2 separate regions of the Homo sapiens genome follow, and region 1 is linked to region 2. The links are contacts of gene promoters, found by promoter capture Hi-C in blood cells and fetal thymus (Javierre and others, 2016). All regions are on one chromosome and are shown on one strand. The core of a region is centred on a gene start or on the middle of the fragment in contact, and the rest is flanking DNA. Distances in the headings are between cores, read along the strand shown.

What was found. The method cuts DNA at HindIII sites, captures the fragments that hold promoters and counts their contacts. A CHiCAGO score of 5 or more calls a contact.
Region 1: a contact is called between a fragment that was not itself captured here and the fragment with the promoter of DNAJC5G in region 2, in 1 of 17 cell types (naive B cells). The highest score is 5.3, in naive B cells.

The regions. Positions count from the first base shown.
Region 1 is chr2:26,907,567-26,910,905 of GRCh38, reverse strand. All of the region lies in intron 2 of DPYSL5 (dihydropyrimidinase like 5), which reads right to left. Among named protein-coding and RNA genes, the nearest start is that of DPYSL5, 61 kb to the right of the region's middle. The HindIII fragment of the contact is 164 bases long and covers 1,989-2,152 here.
Region 2 is chr2:27,273,054-27,276,832 of GRCh38, reverse strand. It overlaps DNAJC5G (DnaJ heat shock protein family (Hsp40) member C5 gamma), which reads right to left and starts at 1,400. Exons shown (of 7, transcript NM_173650.3): 1 at 1,280-1,400; 2 at 446-727; 3 at 1-107. The coding sequence starts at 104. It also overlaps a transcript of SLC30A3 not described here. The HindIII fragment of the contact is 3,678 bases long and covers 1-2,381 here.

The sequences.
Region 1 (3,339 bases), core at 821-3,320, 370 kb after region 2:
AAAAATCGATAAATTGGACTTCAAAATTAAAAACTACTGCTCTTCAAAAAACACTTAAGAAAATGAAAAAGTAAGTAACAGACTGGGAGAAAAATTTGCAAAACATATATCTAATAAATGGCTTGTAATTAGACTATATAAACAACTTTTGGGCTGGGTGTGGTGGCTCACACCTGTAATCCCAGCACTTTGGGAGGCTGGGGCGGGCAGATCAACTGAGGTCAATCATTCAGGACCAGCCTGGCCAACTGGTGAAACCCTGTCTCTACTAAAAAAAAAAAAAAAAAAAGAAGAAGAAGAAAGAAAAAAAGAAAACAACTCTTATATTCAGATTTTTAAAAGCCAACAACTTACTAAAACATGGGTAAAAGGTGTGAGCAGACACTTCACTGAAAACATATAGAAGGCATATAGGCACATGTAAAGACATTCAACACTAGTCACTAAGGAAATGCACATTGTAACCACACTGAGATACCACTACACACCTATTAGAACGGCTAAAATTAAAAAGACTGACCACAACAAGTGGTGGGAATGATATGGAGTCACTACTGATGGGGAAAAAAAAATTGTTACAACCACTTTGGAAACCAGGTGGCAATTTCTTAAAAAGCTAAATGTAGACCTACCATAAAACAGACACATTCCACTTCCGGGTAATTACCCAAGGGAAATAAAAGCCTATGTCCACACAAATATATGTATATGAATGTTCACAGTAGCTTTATCTTTAACAGCCAAAAACTTAATACTACTGAGCGAAAGAAACCAGACAAAAAAAGGAATGCATATCGCATTGCTCCATTTATATAGAAATAGTAGAAAATGCAAACTAATCTATAGTGACATAAAATAGTGGTAACCTGGGGTGAGAGCTGGGGGAAAATTACAGGAACACAAAGAAACTTTCAGGAATGGTGGATATGTTTATTATATTGTGATGGCTTCTTGATGTATGTATATGTCAAAATGTATCAAACTGTATACTTTAAAATGTGCAGCTTATCAAACATTAATTATACCTTTTTTTTTTAAAGGTGGCTTCCCAGGTTACCTAATCATGTTCTCCTCTTTCTAGACATATTCTTCCCAACAGTGGAGTTCACTAACATTTACCAATTTTTTTTTTGTTTTTAGACAGGGTCTTGTTCTGTCACTGGAGTGCAGTGGCATGATCATAGCTCACTGCAGCCTCAAACTTCTGAGCTCAAGTGAGCTCAAACTCCTCCTGCCTCAGCCTCCCTAGTAGCTAGGTCTATAGGTACACACCATCATGCTTGGCTAATTTTTGTATTTTTTGTAGAGATGGGGTTTCACTATGTTGCCTAGGCTGGTCTTAAACTCCTGGCCTCAAGTGATCCTCTTGCCTTGGCCTCCCAAAGCTTTGGGATTACAGGCGTGAGCCACCGAGCCACTGAGCCCCGCCTTGTTTAATTTTATTTTAAAATATTAATTGAGAATACTGTGGATCGTTTAAGTCTAAACAGGAAAATTATTTATGAATTAGGGGTAGTATTTATTAATCTCTAATGGTACTTCCAGCTCTAAAATTGTGTGTGTGAGAGCGAGTGTGAATGTGAGATGGTGTGTGTGATGTGTGTGCAATATGAGTGAGAAACAATGGTCAGTGAGAACGTTCTTACAGTAGTTGGCCCACAGTTTTATATTCGTTTAGTTACTAATTAAAGATCCTTATAGGGCTTCAGTTTTAGTCAACAAGAAACAAAAAAGCATCAGAAGGAGAGAAAAATGTGGCTGGCTGCAGTAATCACCCAAGGGAACAATGAGGCTGAAACTATCCAGGGGAGATGATCTGGCACCTACGCAAATTTCTACCTGTAAATGAACCAAGATATGTCCCTTATTTTCAACACAAATATGGCAACTTCAAAGGTAACCTCTGTGAGGTTTGGGAGAACAGATATTTCCAATTGAGAAAAGGCCATATTCAAATATTTCTTGAAATATTAAAAAAGATACAAGCTTAATTTAAGAAAAGAAAAAGAGGAAGAAGGGAGAAAAATGGAAGAAGACAGAAAAATGGCATTCATGTGCAATATGTATCATTGAAGTGCACATACAGTATATATTTTTCTTCTTCCTTTTTTCCTTTTATAAATTCCAGTGGATGACAGCATAAAGCAAAGCTTCTTGTACTAAGCACGAAAGATTGCCAAGACACTTGGCCTCAATCACAGAGGGTGTATTTATTTTATTCTGAATCAAAGGTTTTAAAAATGCAATAATCTGCATTGATAAATTCTTTGCAAACACTATTCTAGAAGTTGAGGAGCTGCTTGGTCACCATAGGAGGTTTTTTCCCAATACCAGAGATACAAATTTATAAGAAACGATAGATCTCCTCATTCACATCAGTTCTAAGAAGGATCAACCTGGCCTACATTTTGGCCTACCAATTAATGTACACGTAGAATGAAAGTTGCCAGCAAGGTTTTGTTAAGCAAGTAGCTGGTTTGAAGCAGGACACCTTTAAATAGCTCCTGATGCCTGCAGAGTTTATTGCTGGCTATTTCTGCCTTTAAGAGAAAGAGAGAAGACAGAAAATTATCTAGAATTTATCACTATTACTATCAGACTCTGTTTGAAATCTAAAACACACACAGAAATTCGAACGCTAGGAATGAAATCCAGTTCTTTCAGTTCCTATTTGATGCTTAACTGTTTTATATGTATGCTCGTACAAATGGATTTTTAAGGGATCTGACTTTGATCAACATGATCTATTTATTTATTTAACAAACATTCACATAATGCTTAATAAGCACCAAGTATTCTTTTAAGTTCTTTACAAATAATAACTCAATTAGCACTTTTAAAGACATACGACAATGGAGGAACAGAGAGATTAACTTGCCCACATGACATAGCAAGCAAATGTGGAGCTGAAATCCGAACTCCAGCATTCATAGCCCCAGTCTGTGCTGATAACTCCCACTCCATGCTGACATCCATTTCTTGGATGTCGACTACACCGTTAGGGCTACGCGGGCTCTGTGGCTAGTCACAAGTTAAATCGTGGTCTCTGCTCCTCAAAGGGTCTTCAATCTTGTTGAGAAACAAACTTAACATGGGAAACAATTTGAAAGCCCTAGGATGACAAGTTATTTCAGCTGGCGAGAAGAAAGTGACATCCTGGAGCTGGGTTAGCTGGAGGAGGAGTGCCACGAGAGGCTGTTCGCCTTGAAGGAGGGGCTCTGTGCAGGGGTGGAGAGAGATGGCAACAGGCAGCATGGGGTGTCCATGGAGGGCATCTTCCTGATGGATGGGTGCGTGTGGGGAGCAGCTGGCCATGATGGGTCGATGGGAGGGCAAGGT
Region 2 (3,779 bases), core at 151-2,650:
TTTTTGAAGTCTTCAGGTGAGGCGCCCTTCTTAAGATCCAGCACTGCATAGAGGCTCATCTCACTTTTGGACAGCCGGTGTGCTGCTTCCTTCACAGTAGACATGATCTGAGCCAGAGGAGAAGCAGCATCTGTGAGAACTTCTACAAGTAAGGGTACCGAGAAGTGCACTTCCAGTGACAGGAAACTCACTACCTTCAGGGATTAGGCAGGTAAACGATGACAGAAGGACAAGGATAAGATAAGAGTGAGTGGGATTTGTGGCTAGCAGGAGAATTCAGGTGATCAGAAAGATTCCAATTTTAAGGAGGAAACATCTTCTCCTCACATTTCCCAGCATCCTCCAGCTACACAGACCTCTAGATATCCCACATCCTAGAGGTGTTGTAAGCAGGGAGAGGTCTAAGCCAGGAAAAGAGCCTGATTTTGTCTAGAGCTCCTATTACCTGGAGTAAACACCTCTGGGTCTGTCCAAGCTCACTGCTGGGTTTGAAAGACCAGGGCGGCCCCAGCCTGAACGGACAGGATCAGGAATCAGACAGCTCCACAACTTCTTCTTCTTTTTTTTTTTTTTGACGGAGTTTTTTGCTCTTGTTGCCCAGGCTGAAGTGTAATGGCGCGATCTCGGCTCACTGCAACCTCCACCTCCTGGGTGCAAGCGATTTTCCTGCCTCAGCCTCCCGAGTAGCTGAGATTACAGGTGCACGCCACCACGCCCGGCTAATTTTCTGTGTTTTTAGTAGAGACAGAGTTTCACCATGTTGGTCAGGCTGTTCTTGAACTCCTGACCTCAGGTGATCCACCCACCTCGGCCTCCCAAAGTCCTGAGATTACAGGCGTGAGCCATTGAGCCTCGCCGATCCACAGCTATTAAGAGAGAAACACTTCAGACCAAACCGTGTGAGGCCTAACAGAAGTCAAGTGTCCTAGAGCCTGGCGGGGGCGGGGGCGGGGGCGGGGGCGGGGGTGGGGAGTGCTTGCAGCTAGGCCTGGACTTGCTTCTTCCCTCCAGTCTCCTGCTCTCAAACCACCCCACTTCTGTCCCTCAGAGGTGGGACAGTGGGGAGAGGAGGAAGAGGACTCAGAGGCTGGAGAAGGAAGAGAAAAGGCGTTGCTGTGGGAAAGACCTGGCAAGGAAAAGGCAGCGGAACCCCAGAGAGCAGGGTAGACGCCTGCGGCCCAGGAGAACCGAGCAAGGCAAGGAGCTCAAAGGGAGAGCTCTGAGTGTGCAGGGCACCTCTGGCCCTGTGCCGACTCCTCACCTGGGTCTGGCCCTTTACCTGGGAGTCGTTCTCTTAAGCCAGGTGGGTGCCCTTCATCCTTTTGGGTGTGAAACTTCACACCGGCCGGGTCCAGCAGTTGACTGCGCTTGTGCGCAGCGTCGACGCTGAGGGTCTGGGCAGGTCGTTTTTTGGCGCCCCCGGAAGCACTGGGTGGGGAGGCCACATTGGCCCTGGGACTTATTTCGCGCGCAGGGAAGCGAGAGCGGAGGGCTTAGCAGGCCTGCGGCCCAAGGCAGCGTAGGAGCGTTGCTGCCAGGCCTTGGGGCAGGGATTCCCACCGAGCCCCTCTTCCCCAGCAGGAGGGCACCACCCATCTTGATGGCCCAACTCACTCCAGGAAACACAATGGGTTTGCTGACCGTGGCGGATGAGAGGTATGGCTGCTGCATGCCCTTCTTAAGAGGTGTGTTACCTTCCCAGTTGTCTTCAGGACTTAGGGCTCTCCGCTTGGTCCCTCCTTCTCTTCCACCCGGAAACACCTCCACAACCTGGAAGACCCAACTCATATGCCCCTGTTCCTGACACTCCATCATTCACTCTCCCAGTTGTTCCCACTTCGTCTGTCAAAGCATTTCTCCTAGTATATCGTAATGATGAGTTTGCACGTCTCATTAAAATGATGTATTGAGCCTTTTCCAAAAGTCACTACCGTGCTTCAAAAACGTCACTTAAATATGATGCCATCATGAGCATGTCCCATAATGTAACCCAACTTGGCTGTTTCAGTTGTTTCTATTTGATAATATAATAACCTTATAAGGAAAATTCAACAGAAATCCTTGAACAAATGTCTAATTTTTTTTCCTAAGGATACATTCTTAGAAGTGGAATTATTGGGTCGAAATGATTTTTTTTTTCTTTTTTCTTTTCTTTTTTTTTTACGCTCTTGATCTCTATTGCTAACTTTCTTCTGGAAAGGTAGCAGAAGGAGGATTTGTATCCCCACCTGCTGGCATGGGAGCATGCCTCTACCTGGCTTCCCTTCCTGTGAGTTTCTACAGGAGGTAGTGTTTGCATCACTTATAATTTACTACTTTGTAGTGCTGGTTTTCTTTGCAAGAGCACTCAATGGCTCCTGTAACATGTAGTAGAAAAAGCTTTGTTACTTGGAAAATGCTTATCTGTTAACCTTTTTGTAGCTTTTATCACTCTCTTCCTTTTATTACAGTTATTTGTGCACATTTTCCTCACCTTGTAGGTTTTTTTTGTTTGTTTTGTTGTGTTTTGAGGTGGAGTCTCACTCTGTCACACAGGCTGGAGTGCAGTGGCACAATGTCTGCTCACTGGAACCTCTGCCTTCCGGGTTCAAGTGATTCTCCTGCTTCAGCCTTCCAAGTAGCTGGGATTACAGGTGCCTGCCACCACGCCTGGCTAATTTTTTTTGTATTTTTAGTAGAGACGGGGTTTCACCATGTTGGCCAGGCTGGTTTCGAACTCCTGACCTCAGTGATCTACCCGCCTCAGCCTCCAAAAGTGCTGGGATTACAGGCGTGAGCCATTGCGCCAGCCCCCTTGAAGGCGTGAGCCATTGTGCCAGCCTCCTTGAAGCCATTGCGCCAACCCCCATTGCGCCAGCTCCTTCGAAGGTCACTCACCAAAAAAGAAGCTGAAGCTGATAATGTTTTTTGGTGGTTTGTCTCATGCCAAATTTCTTTAACCCCCAAGCTTTCATGACTCATGGGAGGACAGAACTAGCAGAACAAACCAGCTCATTTCTTCCCCAGCACTGGGTAGAGAGAGCAGAAGGCATTAGAGGTGCACTTGTAAATCAGTATTCCACCTCAAGAACCATCTAAGCAAACGAACTAAGGAGTCCATCTGTAGCAGACGTGATGACTGCTGAATTAATGAATTTATTTCTGTAGGCCTGTGGTCAGTGCAGGGAGAGGGGATGAAGACCTTTGCATTACCCACCTGGTCCATAGTCTCTGGGTCAGATGAGTTTAGAGGTCACTCACTTAAAAAGAAGCTGAAGCTGATAATTTTTTTATGGTGGTTTGTCTCATGCCAGATTTCTTTAACCCCCAAGCTTTCATGACTATCATGGGAGGACAGAACTAGCAGAACAAACCAGCTCATTTCTTCCCCAGCACTGGGTAGAGAGAGCAGAAGGCATTAGAGGTTCACTTATAACGAATTCCTTGCCTCAGTCTGTAAGACCCAGCGTGGTCCTGCCCCTCCCTCTCCAATCTTTTCTGGAACCACTGTCCTACTTGCTCTGGGCTCTGCTCCACCGCTTTCCTCTTTCCTGTTAGTTATTTGAAAACATCGTGTTCCCTCCCATTTCAAGAGTCTTTGACCATGTTGTTCCCTCTGCCTGGAGGGCTTGACCTCTCATCCTTCAGGGATCTCAGCTTCAGGCCTCCTCAGAGAGGCCTTCTAAACTGGGTTCTACTCCTCTCTCCTCACCTCATAACAGCCTGCAAATACACACACACACACACACACACACACACACTGTGTATATGTATCTATATCTATCCATATATATATATAT